Regions from separate parts of the Homo sapiens genome. Here all the other regions are linked to region 4. Evidence: promoter capture Hi-C in 16 types of primary human blood cells and fetal thymus (Javierre and others, 2016). All regions are on one chromosome and are shown on one strand. The core of a region is centred on a gene start or on the middle of the fragment in contact, and the rest is flanking DNA. Distances in the headings are between cores, read along the strand shown.

Evidence for each region. Contacts are between HindIII fragments. The CHiCAGO score rates a contact against its expected background, and 5 or more counts as called.
Region 1: a fragment that was not itself captured here is called in contact with the fragment with the promoter of DHRSX in region 4 in 1 of 17 cell types (neutrophils); the score reaches 7.0 in neutrophils.
Region 2: a fragment that was not itself captured here is called in contact with the fragment with the promoter of DHRSX in region 4 in 1 of 17 cell types (neutrophils); the score reaches 6.5 in neutrophils.
Region 3: a fragment that was not itself captured here is called in contact with the fragment with the promoter of DHRSX in region 4 in 1 of 17 cell types (neutrophils); the score reaches 5.5 in neutrophils.

The regions. Positions count from the first base shown.
Region 1 is chrX:2,304,313-2,307,241 of GRCh38, forward strand. All of the region lies in intron 3 of DHRSX (dehydrogenase/reductase X-linked), which reads right to left. Among named protein-coding and RNA genes, the nearest start is that of DHRSX, 200 kb to the right of the region's middle. The HindIII fragment of the contact is 6,213 bases long and covers 1-2,929 here.
Region 2 is chrX:2,341,487-2,344,318 of GRCh38, forward strand. The region is part of intron 3 of DHRSX (dehydrogenase/reductase X-linked); the gene reads right to left. Among named protein-coding and RNA genes, the nearest start is that of DHRSX, 160 kb to the right of the region's middle. The HindIII fragment of the contact is 1,642 bases long and covers 628-2,269 here.
Region 3 is chrX:2,284,364-2,287,063 of GRCh38, forward strand. The region is part of intron 4 of DHRSX (dehydrogenase/reductase X-linked); the gene reads right to left. Among named protein-coding and RNA genes, the nearest start is that of DHRSX, 220 kb to the right of the region's middle. The HindIII fragment of the contact is 331 bases long and covers 1,187-1,517 here.
Region 4 is chrX:2,499,498-2,502,548 of GRCh38, forward strand. It overlaps DHRSX (dehydrogenase/reductase X-linked), which reads right to left and starts at 1,479. Exons shown (of 7, transcript NM_145177.3): 1 at 1,320-1,479. The coding sequence starts at 1,428. It overlaps ZBED1 (zinc finger BED-type containing 1), which reads right to left and starts at 1,479. Exons shown (of 2, transcript NM_001171136.2): 1 at 1,320-1,479. The HindIII fragment of the contact is 4,150 bases long and covers 1-3,051 here.

The sequences.
Region 1 (2,929 bases), core at 329-2,828, 200 kb before region 4:
ATGGATGGATGGATGGATGGATGAACTGATGGATGGATGGATGGATGGATAGATGGATGGATGAATTGATAGATGGGTAGTGATATGGTTTGGATCTGTGTCCTCATTCAAATCTCAAGTTGAATTGGAATCCCCAGTGCTGGAGGTGGACCCTTGTAGGGGGAGATTGGGTCACGGGGGTGGATGTCTCAGGAATAGTTTAGTGCCATCCCCTGGGTGCTGTGCTTGCAATAGTGAATGAGTTCTCGTGGCATCTGGTTGTTGAAAAGTGTGTAGCATCTCCCCAGCCCACCCCAACTGCACCTCTGTCTCTCCTTCTCTTGCTAGGGCCATGTAAGACACCTGCTTTCCTTCACTTTCCACTATGATTATGCATTTCCTCATGCCTCCCTAGAAGCAGAAGCTGCTCTGCTTCCCGTACAGCCTGCAGATCCATGAGCCAATTAAACTTCTTTTCTTTATAAATTACCCAGTCTCAGTGTAGCAATTCCTCAAAGACCTAGAACCAGAAACACCATTTGACCCAGCAATCCCATTACTAGGTATATATCCAAATAAATAGAAATCATTCTATTATAAAGATACAGGCACACATATGTTCATTGCAGCACTATTCACAATAGCAAGGATGTGGAATCAACTCAAATGCCCAAGAATGATAGACTGGATTAAAAAAAATGGTACATATACACCGTGGAATACTATGCAGCCATAAAAAGGAACGAGATCATGTCCTTTGCAGGGACATGGATGGAGCTAGAAGCCATTATTCTTGGCAAACTAATGCAGGAACAGAAAACCAAACACTGTACACTCTCACTCATAAGTGGGTGCTTAACAATGAGAACACATGGATACAGGGAGGGGAACAACACACACTGGGGCGTGTTGTGGGTGGGGGTCAGGGAGGGGGAGAGCATCAGGAAAAATAGCTAATGCCTGCTCAGTAGTGAAGTACAAATCAAAACCACAATGAGATACCACCTCACATCAGTTAGAAGGGCGATCATTAAAAAATCAGGAAACAACAGATGCTGGAGAGGATGTGGAGAAACAGGAATGCTTTTACACTGTTGGTGAGAGTGGAAGTTAGTTCAACCATTGTGGAAGACACTGTGGCGATTCCTCAAGGATCTAGAACCAGAAATACCATTTGACCCAGCAATCCCATGACTGGGTATATACCCAAAGGATTATAAATCATCCTACTATAAAGACACATGCACATGTGTGTTTACTGCAGCACTGTTCACAATATTAAAGACTTGGAACCAACGCAAATGCCCGTCATTGATAGACTGAATAAAGAAAATGTGGCACATAGACACCATGGACTACTATGCAGACATTAAAAAGGATGAGTTCATGTGCTTTGCAGGGACACGGATGAATCTGGAAACCATCATTCTCAGCAAACTAACACAAGAACAGAAAACTAAACACCACATGTTCTCACTCTTAAGTGGGAGTTGAGCAATGAGAACACAGGGACACAGGGAGGGGAACATCACACACTGGGGCCTGTTGGGGGGTGGGGGGCAAGGGGAGAGATAGCTTTAAAAGAAATACCTAATGTAGATAACGAGTTGATGGGTGCAGCAAACCACCATGGCACGTCTATACCTATATAACAAACCTGCATGTTCTGCACATGTACCCCAGAACTTAAAGTACAATAATAAAAAGAATAGCTAACTCATGCTGGGCTTTAATACTTAAGTGATGGGTTGATAGGTGCAGCAAACCACCACGGCACATGTTTATCTATGTACAATCCTGCATATGTACCCGGAACTTAAAATTTTTAAAAATTACCCAGTCTCAGGTATTTCTTCAGAGCAGTGTGAGAACGGAGTAATACAGGCAACCAACGGGCTTTGCTCATTCTTGCAATCAGCATCTTTTTTTTTTTGCATCCATTCAGGAGCTACCTCGCACCAAGAGAAACACTGGTAGGAAGGGTAAGGGGAACAGGGTATGGCTGGCATCACTAGGGGAAGATGAGCCGATACATCAAGCCCTGCAGCAGGGGAAGGCAGAATGCTCACTGGGTGCTAGAACTTGAACTTCACCCCTGACATTCAGAAAAATCTCTTTGGACAAAGAGCAGAGCAGGAATGAAGCCCACAATTAAGATTGCGATCAATTATCTTTTTTTTTTTTTTTTGAGGCAGAGTCTTGCTCTGTTGCCCAGGCTGGAGCGCAGTGGTGCGATCTTGGCTCACTGCAACCTCCACCCGCCAGGTTCAAGCGATTCAGCCTCCCAAGTAGCTGGGATTACAGACGCGCACCACCACGCCTGGCTAATTTTTGTATTTGTAGTAGAGACAAGGTTTCGATGATCAGTCATCTTTTTGACGCACTGCTGGATTCTGTTTGCTAGTATGTGGTTGAGCATTTGTGCGTCTATCTTCATCTGGGATATTGGCCTGTAGTTTTCTATTTTTGTCGTGTCCTTGTCAGATTTTGGTATCAAGATGATACAGGTTTTGTAGAATAAGTTAGGGAGGAATCCCTCCGCCTCAATTTTTTAGAATCGTTTCAGTCAGATTGGAACCAGCTCTTCTTTGTACATCTGGTCGAATTCAGCTGTGAATTTGTCTGGTCTTGGGGCTTTTTTTTTTTTTTTTGATTGATAGGTTTTTGTAAATTACTGATTCAATTTCATAACTTGTCATGAAATGAGTCTGTTCTGGATCTGATTTCTTCCTGATTCAATCTTGGGAGGCATGAGGGAATCAGCCCAGGTGTCCATCAATTATGTGTTGGATGAAGAAAATGTAGTTGCTGCATATATACCGTAGAATAGTATAGAGCCATAAAAAAGAATGAAATCATGTTTTTAGCAGCAACACAGATGCAGCTGGAGGCCATTATCCTAAGTGAATTAACACAGAAACGGAAAATTAAATACCACTTGTTCTCAATT
Region 2 (2,832 bases), core at 199-2,698, 160 kb before region 4:
CCTCTGTGTCTGTGTCTCCTCTTCCGTCTCTTACAAGGACACCTGTCATTAGATTTAGGATCCACTGCAATCCAGGATGATCTCATCTCCAGATCCTTTTTTACATCTGCAAAGACCTTATTTCCAAATAAAAAATCACATGTACAGATTCAAGGTGAACTTGTCTTTTTTTTTTTTTTGGTGGGGGTGGGGGTAAAATAGAGGCACCATTCAATCCACTACAGGGGTTGAGAAGAAATAAAATATTACAAAATGCTCCCTGATAAGAAATAAAATATTACAAAATGCTTCCTGAATGTGATTTAGAAGTTTTTTTGTTTGTTTTGTTTTGTTTTTAAATGGAGTTTCACTCTTACTGCCCAGGCTGGAGCGCAATGGCGTGATGTCAGCTCACCGCAACCTCTACCTCCTGGGTTCAAGTAACTCTCCTGCCTTAGCCTCCCAAGTATCTGGGACTACAGATGCCCGCTACCACTCCCGGCTAATTTTTTGTATTTTTAGTAGACATGGGGTTTCACCATGTTGGCCAGGCTGGTTTCAAACCCCTGACCTCAGGTGATCTGTCCGCCTCGGCCTCCCAATGTGCTGGGATTACAGGCGTGAGCCACCTCGCCCGGCCGATTTAGAAGCTTTTGTTTGTGGGCGTGAAGGTTCAGTAAGAGCTTCCTCTAGTCCTTGTCAAGATCAAAATTAAAGGCATTATAAACAGAGATGCCTATCTGTCGGCCACATATCCAGAAAATAAATGCTGAGATGAGAATTCTGGTTTCTGAATAGGAGTCTGATATCTGCATTTGGTGTTGCCAAAGCAAGCCCTGACTTCTCTCTTCTCTCATTGAGACAGAGCACACACCCTCACTCCTTGTGTCTCTGAGTCACATGTATCGGGCCATACTCACCTGATACCTCACGGATTGTCCCGGGGCTAGTTCTATTTCTAGCTCCTGGGCAGGACGGTGACCATGAGTTCGACGGTGCCCAGCAAGCCCATCTGGCCAGCACTTATCTGCCTTTGGGTACAGCCTGCCCTTTCTCCCAAGTGTCTGAGCATAAAAATAGCCCACCATGTCAACCCCGCAGATGACAAGCATGTGAGTGGCTAGTTTCTGCCTGAGAACTCTCCCGAGGTCTCCCTGAACACTCACGGATGCCTGGGCTGGCCCAAGATGCAGCAGTAGGTCACTGACAGACTCTCTTCCATTTATTCACAGTTTCCATGATTCCCACGCTCATAGCATCGACATAACAAAAGCAAAGTTAAGCTACAGACTCTGCTCCCGCCCCAACCTCTCTAATAGCTGCTAACAGAGCCAATGGATTGTTTTTTTCAACTTGCAACTTAAACACAACTTTGCCTTCTCCCTGAGTCTTTTAATTCAAACATTCAGTCATTCTCCATCAGGTACGCACAGGAGATACAAAATCAATATGATAACGGTCTTCAGGTTGTGGGTGACAGAGCGGGAGCATGGCCATCTTGAACAAACACCACCATTCTAGGCTCCCCTTGATTAAAAACCGCCTAAATCCAGCCCGAAAACATCAGCCTCATGACTCATGTCAGCATAACCAGAAACATTCCAACCCTAAGATAAACCCGTCTCCGACCAAAAACATACCAACCCTGAGACAGCCTCCCCTCTGACCAGAGATATTCAACCCTGCAATAAACTCTCCCTCACATACAAACATTCTGAACCTATGATAAGCACCCCCTTCCAAAACCCTTAAATGTGCTTAGTCTATAAGAGAGAAGAGCTCTGACCTAACTCAGCCAGAAGCCCCTCTCAGGTTTCTCTAAAATAAACCTGTGTTTAACTGTCAAGTGACATTTCATGCTTCTTTCCTCTTTAATTCTTACAGTGAGTGTGTAGAGCACGCTTGACATAAGTGACTCCACCTTAGAAAAAGATTCCATGTTACATTTCATTCAAAAGGCATCATGCCTACAGGAGCCAGATGTTCACCTGATCAATAAAGACCACATCCAAACAGTTAAGGACACAACCAAACACCCTCTTCCATTGTCAATCCTCACCAGAGGACTCTGTGGTCATGAAAGAACAGGGCTTCAGCAGCTCCAAATGGCTACCTTAACAGATGCCATCTTGCTGTCACTTGTAATCATTACGCAGCATCCACCGCAAAAGGCTCTGCCCCACTGATATCAAAGGCTCTTCCTTGCAAGATGGCGACCACTGATGGCCCTCCAGGGCCAGGCCAGGAGACTTTTTTTTGTCCACATCAATATCCCTGTGCTCCTTTGTTAAGCTTTTTCCTACCCCTTTTCTCTTGATGATAAATGTTACGTTGTTTGATGTAGAATGTTTAATCTATAACATGCATATATTGGTGAAGTGTATTAGTATGTATAGGTTGCAATACTGACTGACTTGGGTCACAGCAGGAGCCTGTGCGCCTGTAGCTCTGACTAAATGCTGCCGGCACACAGGCTCCAGTACTCCAAGGGCTCAAGCCATTTCAGTACTAAATGGGAAGTCCTAAGGAGAATTGCCTCCTTGAAAACTCCGTGCATCTTGGGGCTTCTGTAAACTGAAATAGCATCAATAAAAGGCTGAACTTGTGAAAAGACACAACCATACATGGGCCTGGTTTTCTATCTCTGACCTTGCACCACTCATGAGAGCGGGCTCCAGCAAGCCAGCCAGCAGGAAAGACAGAAAAGGTGAAAACTGATTCAACAAAGGAAGGATACTTGAGCTAGATTAAACATTTTATTACATTTTCTCTGAATTTTTAGCCCATCATCACGGGTCATTAGAGAAATGCAAATCAAAACCACAATGAAATACCAACTTATGCCAGTTAGAA
Region 3 (2,700 bases), core at 102-2,601, 220 kb before region 4:
TCATTCACTCATTTGAATTCATTCAAGTGAATGAATGAATTTGAATGAATGAATGAATGAATGAATGAATGGGTGAATGAAGAACTGTACCAAAAAACAGAGTCTTTAGGTCTCTGGCCAGGGAAGAATCATTGTTATTTTTCAGGGTCACCCTGTATCGTGGACGTATTTCTTTGGTGGTAGGAAAAATAATGCTTAGTAATTCATTATCTCAGAAAGAAATTCATCCATTAGAGTTATGGGAAGATGGCTGACAAGGATAAATCTATAAATCCTCTGCATTATTAAAAATCTATCAATTTTCAGACATGGGGATGGGAAGCTAGATAAATACAATTTTGAAGTGAATAAACCATAAATACCGGCTCTGCAGGAGGTCTATTATTGATTTATTCTTGTGCTTGATAAATCATCGCGTTGCCTCTGAGCTTCCCACAGCAGCCAGACAGAGGCAGTCAGGTTCTATTTTCAACCCACTAGCAAATGAAAAAGATATTCTATGTCTGAAGTATTTAATGTTTGCAAAACCTTGATTGCTCTAAGAATAAAAAAAGAAAAGCACGAAGTGTAGCTCCTTCTTGCCTTGGAAGTCACCCTGGCTGAGCTCAGCTGGGGCTGTTTTCCATGAGACTTGAGGCACGTGGTTGACTAGCAGGAGTTTTGGAGGGAAGGTTCTGGGGAAATAGTTTAGGGCAGCAGTCTCCAACCTTTTTGGCACCAGGGACCACTTTTGTGAAAGACAATTTTCTGAAGACAGAAGGTGGAGGTGGAATGTGGGGATGGTTTTGGGATGATTCCGGGGCATGACATTTATTGTACACTTTATTTGTATTATTATTACATTGTACTATATAATGAAATAATTCTACAAGTCGCCATCATATAGAATCAGTGGGAGCCCTGAGCTTGTTTTCCTGTGACTAGACAGTCCCATCTGGGGGTGATGGGAGACAGTGACAGATCATCAGGAATTAGATTCCATAAGGAGCACACAACCTAGATCCTTCCCATGCACAGATCATCAGGCTTTAGCTTTTCATAAGGAGTGCACAACCTAAGTCCCTCACATGCACAGTTCACAGTAGGGTTTGTGCTCCTATAAGAATCTAATGCTGCTGCTGATCTGACAGGAGGCAGAGCTCAGGCAGTCATGTGAACAATGGGGAGTGGCTGTAAATACAGATGAAGCTTTGCTTGTTCACTTGCCACTCACCTTCTGCTGTGCGGCCGGTGTCCTAACAGGCCATGGACTGGTACTATGACCTGGGGGTTGGACAGCCCTGGTTTAGGGGTCTGCAGACCCCCTACTAGCCTCTTAGACACTAAAAGTACCACCACTGGAGTCCTTCCCTGAGGCTGCCTATAAATAGAAACTCTATTTACATAAGTTGACACCAGCAATATCCCAAACATACAATCCAGCAATCTCATTTGCACACAACGAAGAAGAATTCTGATGCACAAACCAACGAGAAAAATCCTTGATTTCTTCTCTAAGTCAAGGTACATCTGGCCCAAGCTTCAGCACACCAGCTGGTGATGAACCCATTCTCAGCGTTGACTGTATAGAATCCAGCCTTCTCATTTGCACACAACGAAGATGAATTCTGATGCATAAACCAAGGCATGCAACAAATGAGAAAAATCCTTTACTTCTTCTCTAAATCAACGTACATCTGGCTCAAGCCTCCAGCACAAGAGCTGGTGATGAATCCATTCTCAACGCTGACTGTGTAGAATCCAGCCTTCTCATTTGCACACCACGAAGATGAATTCTGATGCACAAACTAAGGCATGCAATAAATGAGAAAAATACTTTGCTTCTTCCCTAAATCCAGGTACATCAGACCCAGGCCTCCAGCACACGGGCTTGTGCTGAATCCATTCTCAGTGCTGACTGTATAGAATCCAGCCTCGTCATTTGCACACCATGAAGATGAATTCTGATGCACAAACCAAGGCAAAAAATGCTTTACTTCCTCTCTAAATCAAGGTTCATCTGGCCCAAGCCTCCAGCACACAGGCTGGTGATGAATCCATTCTCAGCATAGACTGTGCCATCTGGGCTACTTCTGGCTTGAGGAGCACTTATCCCTGCAGCTTTCCATCCACCCTGGGTACCTCGGGAGGCCCCTTTCCAAGCCCATGGGCTTCACGAAGCTCCATGGTTCTGTTGCATTTCCAAGAGAACCAAGAGGATTTGTCAACAAGAGACTGCCTCTCTGCATTTCTGTCTTCTTGTGAAGAGTGGGCAATGGGTATTCAACACAGCCTCCAAAAGCGAAGTCTCCAGCTCTTTTCTAGAAGCTTCTGTCTGTACCCACAGAGGAAAAAAAAAAAAATCCAGATCCTCTGCAACTGAGCTCTTCTCAACAGTGACCCCAGGGACAAGATGAACCTTAGTCAGCCACAAAAACCTATAGGGAGTCCAGGAAAGCCACAGCCTGAGCAACCTCTTGAAAGATGTAGAACAAAAAGATAAAAGGAAGAAAGTGCAAAGTGTTATTTCAAGCCATCATCTTGTAACAAATGGATTCTCATTATCACCTCCTGGAAATGGTGTTCTGAGCAGCACAGGCTGGGGAATTCCAGGGAGGCGTGTGACTTGGGGTGCAATCTTCTCTGTACTTTACAAGACTGTGTTGTCACATTGCAAGAGGTGTGTTTTCTAAGGCAGAACATTTCACAGAATGATTATTG
Region 4 (3,051 bases), core at 229-2,728:
AGTGGCGCTCTGTCTGTAATCCCAGCAGTTTGGGAGGCCCAGACTGGAGGATTGCTGCAGGCCAGGGGTTCAAGACCAGCCTGGGCAACATGGTGAGATGCCATCTCTACAAAAAATTTAAAACATTAGCCAGGCGTGGTGGCTCACGCCTGTAAACCCAGCACTTTGGGGGACCCAGGTAGGAGGATTGCTTCGGCCCATGAGTTTCAGACCAGCCTGGGCAACGTAGCAAGACCCTATTGCTACACAAAAAAATTAAAACATTAGACAGGTGTGGTGGCTCACACCTGTAATCCCAACAGTTTGGGAGGCAAAGGAAGGAAGATCGCTTGAGCCCAGGAGTTCGAGACCAGCCTGAGCAACATAGCAAGACCCCGTCTACAAAACTTTAAAACATTAGTCGGATGCAGTAGCTGGTGCCTGTAATGCCAGCACTTTGGGAGGCTGAGGCAGGAGGACTGCTTGAGCCCAGGAGTTCGAGAGTAGCCTCGGCAACAGAGCAAGACTTCATCTCTACTTCCTATTACAAAAAATAATAATAATAATAAATTCTGAACCTGCAAATCTAGGAACAGAAGTTATCTGCATACACAAAACACAGTGGCGGTCATCACTGATGAGTTCAGACAGTGAACGAGTCCTGCAAAGTTGGAGATCTGTGACTCAGAGATGTTTACAAAGGCCAAGGAAACAAAGTTGCCACTTAACGGGCCTGCCCTCCCCACCAGACCTCCGTGGCTCCCCAGTGCCCGAGAAGCCGCCTCTGGGCCCCCTCTGGAGACGTCCTCCGGAGAAGGGCCCATCCTCACTTACCCTGGGGTGGGTAGGGGTCGAGGTCCCTGGGACGCCCGCTCCTCCCCTCCGGGGCCTGGCGGGGGCGCGCGGTCACTGGCCGACCGCAGGCGGCAGGCAGAGCCGCCTGATGTCTTGGGCGCGGGGCGTGCGAGCCCCCGGGTCCCCGGCCATGGCCCGGAGGTGTCAGGGTGCGCGGGGGGGCGGCTGCACGGGGGCTGCTTGGTTGGAGCCCGACCCGGGACAGGCGGGGAGGCCACACGCGCGGGGAGGGAAGGGTCGGGCCGGGTCGGGCCGGGCCAGGCGCGCAGAAGAGCCGGCGGGGACGGAAAGCGCGGGGCGGGGAGGTCCCAGCGCGCACGCCGCCCCCCCCCCACCCCCGGCCACACCTCGACCCCCGCCCAGCCCCACTTCCGGGAGCGCCACCGCCTCGCCAAGGTCACGCGGAGCCCCCGCGCCCCCGCCCCCGAGCCAGCCCGCGCCCACCCGGGTCCCCGGAGCCCTGACCCCTGCCCCGCCCCGCTGACCTGGCTCCAGGAAGCCCCCGCGGCAGCGCCGCAGCAGCTGCGCCAGGATCACCGCGGCGCCTACCGCGTAGACCCGCAGGGCCGCCCGCGCCGCAGACAATGGCGACATGGCTGCCCCGGCCGCGCCGCCGCCGCTTCCGCGCCGCCCGCGGGACTCTGCGCCCGCCCGCCCGGACGGACGGCGGAAACGCGCGCGCCCCGGACCGCCCCCTGCCCGCCCCGAACCGCCCCGGCCTGCGGGGAACCCCCAACCCCAGACCCCGCCCGGGCCCTCTGGGATCCCGCACCGCCTGCAGGACTGGGGACCCCGAGCGGACAACCGACCCCAGCCAGGACACCCCCCCCAGGACCACAGACTCCAGCCAGGAACCCCCCCCTGCAAGGACCATAGACTTCAGCCAGGACCCCCCCCCCCAGGACCACAGACCCCAGCCAGGACGCCCCCAGGACCACTGACCCCAGTCAGGACCCCCCCTTCAGGACCACAGACCCCAGCAGGGACCCCCCACACACACCCCCAGCCAGGACCACAGACCCCAGCCAGGAATCCCCCCCAGGACCACAGACCCCAGCAGGGACCCTCCACACCTCCTCCAGGACCACAGACCCCAGCAGGGACCCTTCCCCCTCCCGGCAGGACTGCAGACCCCAGCAGGGATCCCCACCACCACAAGACCAACAGCCCCAGCCAGGACGCCCCCAGGACTACAGACCCCAGCCAGCACCCAAGTCAGATCCATAGACTCCTCCCAAGAACACCCCCCAGGACCCCAGACCCCTGCTGGGACCCCCAAGACCACAGGCCCCCCCACTGGGGCACGCCCAGACACCCCACCAAGAACCCCACCAGGACTACAGACCTCCACCAGGACTCCCCAGTACCACAGATCCTCCCAGGGCCCCCCAGGACCACAGACCTCCACTGGGACCCCCACCACCAGGACCCCTCTCCAGGATCACAGACCCCTACTGGGGCCCCCTTCTAGGACCTCCACCTCCATCACAACCACCCCCCGGACCACAGGCCCCAGCCAGCACCCCACAAGACCACAGACCCCTGCCAGGACGCCCCCCAGGACTACAGACCCCAGCTGGACTGCCTCTCCAAGACCCCACACTCCAGCCAAGACCATGGAACCCCATTCAAGCCCCAGCCAGGACCCCCACCATGGGATCACAGATCCCCTACCCAGACCCTGCAGGGGACCAGGACCACCACGGGAACCACCCTCCCCATCTTAGCCAGAATCATGTAACCCCACGCAGACCTCAGCAGGGACCACAAGGACTTGGACCCCATAGGGAACCCCAGACAACCACCCAGAGCCATGCCAGGATTATGGACCAGGACTCCCACAGAGGACTCTGAACAGCTGTAAGGACCATGGACCCCACACCCTAATTCGTACTGACACCACAGAACCTGCCCCAAGCACGGACCCCACACCCCAGTTCCTGCTGACACCACAGAACCTGCCCCAAGCACGGACCCCACACCCCAGTTCCTACTGAGACCACAGACCCCACCCCAATTCCTGCCAGGCCACAGACACCACCCACCAAACCTACCCCTCCACTTCCCTGCCCCCAACAACCCTGCAGGGATCACAGACCCCCTTCCCGGCCCCTGCAGAGAACTCCAGACTACTTCAGGGACCACGAGCCCCCTCCCCACCCTGATCCCTACTGGGACAGCAGACCCCTACTCAGACCTTGGTTGGGAACCCCAGAC